2 separate regions of the Homo sapiens genome follow, and region 2 is linked to region 1. The links are contacts of gene promoters, found by promoter capture Hi-C in blood cells and fetal thymus (Javierre and others, 2016). All regions are on one chromosome and are shown on one strand. Each heading gives the region's core, a stretch centred on a gene start or on the middle of the fragment in contact. The rest is flanking DNA. Distances are from core to core; before and after follow the strand shown. Region 1 holds the start of PCDHB14 (protocadherin beta 14). Region 2 holds the start of LOC105378199 (a long non-coding RNA gene).

What was found. Contacts are between HindIII fragments. The CHiCAGO score rates a contact against its expected background, and 5 or more counts as called.
Region 2: a contact is called between a fragment that was not itself captured here and the fragment with the promoter of PCDHB14 in region 1, in 3 of 17 cell types (M1 macrophages, M0 macrophages and M2 macrophages). The highest score is 8.2, in M1 macrophages.

What each region holds. Positions count from the first base shown.
Region 1 is chr5:141,221,343-141,226,815 of GRCh38, forward strand. It overlaps PCDHB14 (protocadherin beta 14), which reads left to right and starts at 2,001. Exons shown (of 1, transcript NM_018934.4): 1 at 2,001-5,473. The coding sequence starts at 2,164. The coding sequence ends at 4,560. It also overlaps PCDHB@. The HindIII fragment of the contact is 16,360 bases long and covers 1,191-5,473 here.
Region 2 is chr5:141,265,730-141,271,202 of GRCh38, forward strand. LOC105378199 (a long non-coding RNA gene) reads right to left here and starts at 3,029. Exons shown (of 2, transcript XR_001742473.1): 1 at 2,740-3,029. The HindIII fragment of the contact is 184 bases long and covers 2,008-2,191 here.

The DNA of each region.
Region 1 (5,473 bases), core at 751-3,250:
AAGATGTTTCTCAGAGTTCTGTGCCAAGCCTCTTTTATACTTATTTGACACACTTTTGCTTGGTTATCCTAGAGCATTCATGGTGTGTATATATATATATATATATATATATATGGTGATTGAAACCATGAATGCTATATATATATATATGCTATATATATGCTCTCTGTATATATGCTATATATATGCTCTCTCTCTATATATATGCTATATATATGCTCTCTCTCTCTGTCTCTCTCTGTCTCTCTCTATATATATACATATATACACACCACAGTTCATATTGCCAGCTCAGATTTATTTCCTATGCTTTGGTTATATGCAAACACACACACACACACCCCACCACCACGCAAACACACATCCTACAGGCACTTACCTCAATATCAGCATGTTCAAAACTGAACACTTCATCTTTTTCCACCCCAATCATGTTTTTTTTTAGCATTCCCTGTCCTAGTGAATGACACCACTAGTCATCCAGATGCCCAGTCCAGAGGTGTGATATCATCTCTGAGTCTTTCCCATTTTTCTCCCCATGCAACCTATCAACCAACAGTTGAAAACATTTCATCTCCTCATACCTTTCTATTCATCCCTCTTCTCTCCATCCACACTGGCATTATCCTCATCCAGATCATCATCTCTTATCTGATCTCCTTGATTCTCCAGTCACTCCCCCTGAAATTAATTCTCCATACTGCAGCCAAACTGATTTTTTAAAATGCAGATGTAATCATGTTAATCAGATATTTAAAACCCATCTTTGTACTTGAATTACCTTTAGGATAAATTCAAGAATGCATGATATGACCTGTATAATGATTCATGTTCTCACCATGCTTTTAACCCTAATTTCATTGTTAGACCCTCCCCTTCCATAGTTTTTAAAGTCCAAGGCATACTTCATTTCTCTGTGTTCCTCAAAATGCCCATCTGAAATATTCCTCCTTCTCCTGGCTAGTTCCTTCAGATCACAATGTATTTTTCATTACCTCAGGAAAGCTTTCACTGATGTCCCAAGTCCGACTTTGATCTTAATTATTTTATTTTTGACAGACACTTAACCAGCACTTACAAACCACTTTGTAAATATTAATTCATTAGATGCCTACGATAATAATCATAGGAGACAAATATTATTACCCCATTTTACAGGTGAGGAAACAAAGGTATCTATAACTTGCCCAAGCTTATAGATAGTAAGTCACATAACCAGGATTCTAATATTGATAATTTGGTTCCAGATCCCATATTCCCAAGCACTAAGGTATGCAGCCTCCTAGGTACAAGAAGTCTTTTCTAGGTATTTCTATATTACTTTTTATAAATGCATACATTATGACATACTTCGTTTACTTGTCTGCCAATTTTTCTAGCTTGTGAGCTCTGTAAGAGCAAGAATTATCTCTAACTTATTTGTGCCATGTCCTTCTTTATATTTTTAAAATATAAAAGTGAAAAAAGTAATGATATTACCAACTATAGCTGACAACAAGTATTTACAAGAGTGAAGGAGATAATATATTTGTAATTACTCGAGAAATGACTTAAATAAAAAATTATTTCTTCAGTTCAGAATATTTTAACAGATCCTTTAGTGCCGAGCATTCAAAACAGTGATAATGCAGTGTATGGACTTTTCTGGATTCAAATTCAAACAAACCAACAGCAAAGGACATTTTGGAGAGAACTGGGGAAAACCAAATGCAGTATAAATTACACCAAGGAATTATTGCTCAAGTTGTTGATTGTGAACGTTTTATTACAATTATCTTTTAGAAGGCCTTACCTATTAAAAATACTTAGTGAAGTATTTAAAGGAAAAAAAATGATGTCTGGGATTTGTTTCGAATGTTCCGGATGTATTTATGAATTACTTTTTCAAAGAGGAAAACTTTTTTAATGAAAAAAAAAACATGGAGACACATGGTGGCGCTACAGGATAAGACGAAAACAGTACATAGGCTGGCACGGTGAGCTTCGCTATTCAGGAGAACAGAAAGCATCCAACCCACTGAAAAGACAGGCATTAAAGGAGCTTCGCCTACAGAGCTGCTGGAGGATACACTCTCCAGGGGGTTCCTGTTAAAAACCAGAGCTTCAGCTTCCAAAATTACGGCTGAGCTTCAGTTTTTCCACAAGAGATTGCCTAAAGGAACCATGGAGATCAGAGGGGCACTCGATCTGCGAAAAAGGCAAGTTCTAATATTCCTTGTTTTGCTGGGATTGTCTCGGGCAGGTACTGAATCTGCACACTATTCTGTGGCAGAGGAAACAGAAATTGGCTCTTTTGTGGCTAATCTAGCGAGGGACCTAGGGCTGGGGGTGGAGGAGCTGTCTTCACGTGAAGCCCGGGTAGTGTCTGATGATAATAAAAAGTATTTGCACCTTGATTTGCTGACTGGGAATTTGCTCCTAAATGAGAAACTAGACCGAGACGAGCTGTGTGGCTCCACCGAGCCCTGTGTGCTGCATTTTCAGGTGGTTTTGGAAAACCCTTTACAGTTTTTTCGGTTTGAGCTGTGTGTCAAAGACATAAATGATCACTCCCCTACATTTCTAGACAAGGAAATACTTATTAAAATATCAGAAGGTACCACTGTTGGAGCTACCTTTCTAATGGAGAGTGCTCAAGATTTGGATGTCGGAAGCAACAGTCTCCAAAACTACACAATTAGCCCCAATTCTCACTTCTACATTAAAATTCCCGACAGTAGTGACAGAAAGATATACCCAGAGCTGGTCCTAGATAGAGCTTTAGATTATGAACAGGAAGCTGAACTCAGATTAACACTCACAGCAGTGGATGGTGGATCCCCGCCCAAGTCTGGGACAACTTTGGTTCTCATCAAGGTGTTGGACATCAATGATAATGCCCCTGAGTTTCCTCAGAGTCTCTATGAGGTGCAAGTCCCCGAGGACAGACCCCTTGGCTCCTGGATTGCCACCATCTCAGCTAAGGATCTGGATGCAGGAAACTATGGAAAAATATCTTACACATTTTTCCATGCATCAGAAGATATTCGTAAAACATTTGAAATTAATCCAATATCTGGGGAAGTTAATTTGAGATCACCCCTGGATTTTGAAGTAATACAGTCCTACACTATAAATATTCAGGCAACAGATGGTGGGGGTCTTTCAGGAAAATGCACCCTTCTAGTTAAAGTTATGGATATAAACGACAACCCACCAGAAGTGACCATATCGTCGATTACAAAGAGAATTCCAGAGAATGCCTCAGAGACCCTAGTAGCTCTTTTTAGTATCCTAGACCAAGACTCTGGAGACAATGGGAGGATGATTTGCTCTATTCAAGATAACCTCCCTTTTTTCCTGAAACCGACCTTCAAGAACTTTTTCACTCTAGTTTCTGAAAAAGCACTGGACAGAGAGAGCCAAGCCGAGTACAACATCACGATCACCGTCACAGACTTGGGGACACCCAGGCTGAAAACCGAGTACAACATAACCGTGCTGCTCTCTGACGTCAATGACAACGCCCCCACCTTCACCCAAACCTCCTACACCCTGTTCGTCCGCGAGAACAACAGCCCCGCCCTGCACATCGGCAGCGTCAGCGCCACAGACAGAGACTCAGGCACCAACGCCCAGGTCAACTACTCGCTGCTGCCGCCCCAGGACCGGCACCTGCCCCTCGCCTCCTTGGTCTCCATCAACGCGGACAATGGCCACCTGTTTGCCCTCAGGTCGCTGGACTACGAGGCCCTACAGGAGTTCGAGTTTCGCGTGGGCGCCACAGACCGCGGGTCCCCGGCGTTGAGCAGCGAGGCGCTGGTGCGCGTGCTGGTGCTGGACGCCAACGACAACTCGCCCTTCGTGCTGTACCCGCTGCAGAACGGCTCCGCGCCCTGCACCGAGCTGGTGCCCCGGGCGGCCGAGCCGGGCTACCTGGTGACCAAGGTGGTGGCGGTGGACGGCGACTCGGGCCAGAACGCCTGGCTGTCGTACCAGCTGCTCAAGGCCACGGAGCCCGGGCTGTTCGGCGTGTGGGCGCACAATGGCGAGGTGCGCACCGCCAGGCTGCTGAGCGAGCGCGACGCGGCCAAGCACAGGCTGGTGGTGCTGGTCAAGGACAATGGCGAGCCTCCTCGCTCGGCCACCGCCACGCTGCACGTGCTCCTGGTGGACGGCTTCTCCCAGCCCTACCTGCCGCTCCCTGAGGCGGCCCCGGCCCAGGCCCAGGCCGACTCCCTCACCGTCTACCTGGTGGTGGCATTGGCCTCGGTGTCGTCGCTCTTCCTCTTCTCGGTGCTCCTGTTCGTGGCGGTGCGGCTGTGCAGGAGGAGCAGGGCGGCCTCGGTGGGTCGCTGCTCGGTGCCCGAGGGTCCCTTTCCAGGGCATCTGGTGGACGTGAGCGGCACCGGGACCCTGTCCCAGAGCTACCAATACGAGGTGTGTCTGACAGGAGGTTCCGGGACAAATGAGTTCAAATTTCTGAAGCCGATTATCCCCAATTTTCAAGTTCATGACACTGGTAGGAATATGGGGGAAATCGAGAACTTTCGAAATAGCTTTGGACTTAACATTCAATAAAACAATTTATTTTAAATGTCTAATTTTTGGTTATTCTTGGCAAGCTGATGGTACTTTTTGCATAATCTTTTGTGGATTCTTGGTTGTACTGTAGTTGCATGCATGATTATAGCTCTTGTTTTTCTCACAGTTTCTTTAAAAATCTTTATTAGTGGCTATAATGACGTGGAAATGTAATCTGTGTTTTCTGGTTTTTCATTTATTTGGCCAAAATGTTATATTAATGGAGTTATTGCTATTTTTGCTGTGATAATGGTATTATGCAAGACCATATTCTCAATTATTTGGATATGCAAACTAAAGTATTAAGAGCTAATGTCATTATATATGTAACTTAAATCTAGACACCATCAAAGCATAAAATAAAAATAAAAAGCGTTGCTGAATCTGGGTCGAAAATGTAGTGCGTTTATCCCACTATTCTCTCTGAAAATGTTCTTTAGAAAGGGTAACAAAGATGCTATCCCTCCATTTTCAGTTCTGGAGAACCTTATTAGTTTTTCAAATATTTACTTTATGATGAAACTTAAGTGGTCACATTGGAAATTATTAATTTCTTAAGTAATTTTTTCTGTAACTGCTTTTGTTGATAATCCTGTTGTGGAGGAAGAGTCTTATAATGCTCTGGGCTTTGCTGTCACTCTTTGGTTTTCTTAATTTAATTCTATTTATTTATGTTTTTTGAGACAGGGTCTCATTCCATTGACCTGGCTGGAATGCAGTGGCACCATCATGGCTCACTGCCGCCTTGACTTCCTGGGTTCAGGTGATTCTCCTGCCTCAGCCTCCTGAGTAGCTGGATCACCAGCACAGGCCACTACGGCCTGGCTAATTCTTTTGTATTTTTTTTGTACAGATGGAATCTTGCCATGTTTCCCAGTCTGGTCTGGAACTCCTTGGCTCAAGCGATCTG
Region 2 (5,473 bases), core at 850-3,349, 44 kb after region 1:
GTGTGGAACATACTGTAGAATTGTCCCATCAAAGAACCAGAAAGTTAGTGGTAGACTGATCTCACCTTCCATCTTTCATTGAGTGTTAACCCTAAGGGCATTAAATTTCTGGAAATTCCAGATTGCAATGTGAATGGGCAGAGCAAGCTCCTATGGCATCAGAGAAATCCCTCCCAGGAAGAGAAGTAGAAAGACAAAAGTGCTTGACATGATGTATTAGTCAATTTTCACACTGTTGATAAAGACATACCTGAAACTAGGGAGCAAAAGAGGTTTAATTGGACTTACAGTTCCACATGGCTAGGGAGGCCTCAGAATCATGGCAGTAGGTGAAATGCACTTCCTACATGGCAGCGGCAAGAGAAAATGAGAGAGATGCAAAAGTGGAAATCCCTGATAAAACCATCAGATCTCATGAGACTTATTCACTACGACCAGAACAGTAGGAGGGAAACTGCCCTCATGATTCAATTATCTCCCACCAGGTCCCTCCCACAACACGTGGGAATTATGGGAGTACAATTCAAGATGAGATTTGAGTGGGGACACAGCCAAACCATATCACAAGAGAAGCTGCTGTAAGCTTGCTAAAAAGTTTTCATTGAACTGCAGGTAAACTCTGAGGTGGGCCAAGGGAATATAGGACAGGCATCAATAGCATCTGCTATACTGCTGCATTTGGTTGTACAAGCAAAGGGTTGAGAAGTAGCTGTGGAAGGAAGGTTCAGCATTCCAGTGTCACCAGGAGCAACAGCCAGATTGAGTGTTCCTGTATCTAGGAGCAACTGTGTGGGTATTGAGAGGTGGTAGCAACAGTAGAAGTGGCCTACTAACCCTGGGTCACAGGTGTAGCAAGTTGTTCTTGGAACTCAATAGTTCCTGAGTTCCACTTATCCACACATTCCAATGATGCTATAAAAATCTAATTATCTCTGTTAAATATTTTTCTGCTTAAACTGATTAGAGTTGTTTTTGTTATGTGCCCTGAGCCCCAAAAATATATTTTGTACCAGAATTTGCAGGCAACAAACACCGAAGAATGAAATTTAGGATAGATTATATGACCTAGATAGATCAAAGGCAATGATAGTCCCATATCCTCTAGAAAATAAGATATTGGTAGTCCCTGGTAAGCAACAGCAAAACATTTACTCAGGTTATCACTTGTGTTTGTCTGGAATTAATTGCTTATTGAAGGTAATTCTCTGGTAAGCAAAGTGGCTGGTGTACCAAAGCATTATGGTGGGGAAGAGAAAGGTTCAGGGGATGTGGTGATTACTTTTGACTGCAATCGAGAATTCAATTAAAGAAAATAACGAACTTAGGGTTTTAAAATTCTTGGGTCAGGAAAGATATGAAAATCAAATATTTTAATGATTGCTTTAAAAACATCTCTTTTATCCCACGGCTACAGGACTACATAGATAAAAATCAGACAAAAAGTCTGATTCTTCAGGTTGATAAATAATTACAAAGTTGAATTCACAACCACTGCATGTTTTTTAATGAAATTGCTAGAGCATTGATCCAGAAAGAGTAGTATCCTTAGAATGGGAATGGGGACAGCTAGGTGAATTCAGATGTGATTGTATCTTGAATCCCCAAACCAATTGAGCCCTTTTTTATCCCAGCAGAAGCAAACTCATTTTCCTTTTTAATAAGACTGTCCTCTTTGCATGCATAGTCTGTAATGACCTCAGCTGAGACAGTTACATTGCAAAGGGTTGCTAATTTTCTCCATGCCCTTCATTTGCCAACTCTCATTGCCTCTAGACCTCTAATTAGATTCATATCCTAGCATGTTCAATGGGGACAAGCACAAAGCCAGTCCCAATATTAGAAGGCATATATACTGAAAGAATTGCATAATTTTGCTAACTACATCACAGAAACCTTAGGAATATGTTTGAGAACTGAGTATGCTATAACAGAAAACAAAGAAAAAACCTTTAGATTGAGTTGAATTTAGGTGGGTTCGTTTGCCAGAGATTCTGAATTCAGTGTTCAAGCTTTCACATGATTATCTCTAATAGTTCTTTTGGTCAGCTGACTCAATTCAATGACAGCCACAATTTAACAAAGGAAATTAAGATGCTAATAATGCCTTAGGATAATGTTATCCAGCAAAAGGGACTCACTACCTGATATGCTAGAAGCCAATAATATGACACTGCATTTTTGAGAAAAGAAAAGCTTTATATTGAAAGTCTTTGTTATAGCAACAAACACACAAAGGAAAGAAAATGGATTCCCAAGGAGACAGGAGTAAACGTCAAGTGTCTTCCCATGCTGGCTTTCAGGCAGTAATTTTGTTAGAAATGCTTTACGGGGCTGGGCGTGGTGGCTCACGCCTGTAATCCCAACACTTTGGGAGGCCGAGGCGGGTGGATTACCTAAGGTTAGGAGTTTGAGACCAGCCTGGCCAACATGGTGAAACCCTGCCTCTACTAAAAATACAAAAATTAGCCAGGCGTGGTGGCGTGCGCCTGTAATCCCAGCTACTCAGGAGGCTGAGGCAGGAGAATCACTTGAACCCGGGAGGTGGAGGTTGCAATGGGCGGAGATCACACCACGGCACTCCAGCCTGGGCGATTGAGTAAGACTCCGTCTCAAAAAAAAAAAAAAAAAAAGAAACAAAGGAAGAAAAGAAAAAGAAAAGATTTAGGGGGCAGATTCTGAGAGCGGTGATTAGCGGAAGGAAAGGGGAGGCATGGGAAGTCCTTGGGCATGTGCACTTACCTCTTCATGCCTCCGCAAGGGTCTTTGTGCGAATTCGGGGGAGTTAGTATGAAACCTGTGGTGGAAACTCAGGCTGCGATCTCAGCAAGCTCATTCTGTGCAAACTCCATTTATCTATCTAGGTTACAACCGATTTCAGCCAGTTCATTTCTTTTAAGCAGAGGGAGTCTCAGTGTTTCAGCAAGTTGTTTCTTATCTGCCATTATGAAAACTCAAGAATTTCTGTTAGTTACTGGTTTCTTTAACTCTTTGGGGCACAGTTTCAATAGTGTAGAGGAAAAAAAAACAAAAACAAAAAAAAAAAACAAAGACTCAGGAAAATAAATCTCTATTTTTTTTTCTTTTTTCTTTTTTTTTTTTGAGACGGAGTCTGGCTCTTTCGTTTCGCCCAGGCCGGACTGCAATGGCGCTATCTCGGCTCACTGCAAGCTCCGCCTCCCGGGTTCACGCCATTCTCCTGCCTCAGCCTCCCGAGTAGCTGGGAAAATAAATCTCTATTTTTATTCTTGCCCTAGGTATCACAAATGTTAGGGGTGCTCCTGCTCCTCTGAGAGTCATACAAGGTTCTAATTATCTCACCATCCCATAGGACATCACATTTTTCCAGCACGCTAATGGGATCATGCTGATTGTACCTCTTCAATAGCAAGTAACATGTGCCCTAGATGCCTTCGTAAGACGTATGTATGGCAGAAGAGGAGATAAGTAAGCCCCACAACAATTTAAGGAACTGTCCTCTCTGAAGTTTTGGGGGATTCAGAAATCTAGGGCATGTTAAGATATTTCCAAGAAAGTGAAAAACAAGTTGCTGCTGCCCTTCCTACACTCCCTACCATGAAGAAAAAGGCAAACTTGGTGAGCCTCTTGATTTTGGAGGCAACATGTTATCTTTTGGCATCCTTCTCTGATCTTTTTGCTGAGTCACTGTTAAGGCTGCCAGCTTTAAACTGAACTCCAAATCAAAGAAGGCTCTACAGGTACTCCAGAATGCATTAAGAACAGGAACACCACTTGGGAGTTATGACTCAGCAGATAAAATTATGTTTAACGCTGGGCGCAGTGGCTCATGCCTGTAATCCCAGCACTTTCGGAGGCCGAGGCAGGTGGATCACTTGAGGTCAGGAGTTTGAGAATAGCCTGGCCAACATAGTGAAACCCCATCTCTACTAAAAATAAAAAAAATTAGACAGGTGTGGTGGCACAGGCCTGTAATCCCAGCAACTCGGAAGGCTGAAGCACGAGAATTGCTTGAACCCAGGAGGCAGAGGTTGCAGTGAGCCGGTATCACACCACTGAACTCCAACCTGGGCGACAGAGCAAGACGCTGTCTGAAAAAATAAATTATGTTTAAAGTGTCTACTATAGCAGAATGTTATATGAAGCCCAAGACATTCCCTAACAAGAGAATTACAGCGTGGGCCTCTGGGATTTGGAACATAGTCCTACCTTTTCAGTAAATAACTATTATCCTGTTAAGAAATAGATCATTCTCCAAGCAGTTCCTCATATGATACTTGTTAATTACAAAGATATTGTTATAATATTTATTAATTACAGACGGCAAACAGTAACTTTACAGTGGAGACAAACTCTTTATCAAATAACCAAAGTTAACATCTCCAGTATGAAACATTAACCTGACATATCTCCTGATATGACGACTGCACATCATTTCTGTATTATTCTTGCCAAAAATGTACTACCAAAATTTAGTCATAAGGAAATATCAGACAAACCCAAATTAAGAGACATTTAACCAATAGCTTGCCAGCACTCTTAAAAAGTGTTAAGGTCATAGAAGCTAAAGAAAGACTGGAAAATTGTCCTAGATTGGAAGAAGTTAAGGAGAAGTTAATGACCGATTCCTAGACCGGAAAAAGGACATTAGTGGAACAATTGGCAAAATTTGAATAAAGTCTACAGGTTAGTTAATTGTATCAATGATAATTTCTTACATTGAGGATAAGATGTTAACTTTTGAGGAAGCTGTGAGGGAAGGACAAATGGAAACTCATACTATTTTTAAAAATGTTTTGGGTCTTAAATTATTTTAAAATTTAAAACTTTTTTTAATGTTTTTGGAGCTTCTAGATAGCTGCACATGTGGAGGCTTCTAGAGGGTAGTGCTCCCACAAAGGTCATGGAAGCTCCTCACCCCTTTCCCCATACCTCTATGCATCTCTTCATCTGTATCCTTTGTAATATTCTTCATAACACATTGGTAAAATTTATTTGGCTTTAAATGCTTCAGAGTGGAAGGGCATATTTGGGTCGATGCAGGGCACACAACTCACTATTGAACAATTGCAGATGGCTATATGTGATCCAGGCACATAGGAGTGTTCCTGAGGGAACAGTCAGCCTAGTGAACTAGATAAAAGCCACTGTAAGTACTGACTATAAAACTGAGGAGCTGCTGGGTTCTGTCAACACTTGCACAGTGCCCTATAAACAGCTCTCAACTAACCACCCAACAACTGCTGAGTTTGTGGATGACAGCTCCAAGATTCCAAGGTGAGTGGGCAACCTCCTGTTTGGAAGGCTGCTCCTCTGATCAAAAAAGTCGTTCTAGGACCAGAGCTGTAACTACAAGTACTGGAAGCAGGGATGATTTCTAAACAAGAAACTGTAAATACGTTTTTAAGCCTCATATCAGAATTGCTAAGGGCCTGATGGGAGTGGGTTGTGCAAAATTGGGGTTAACAGTGAATGCAGCTATACTGCCTGGTGGTAA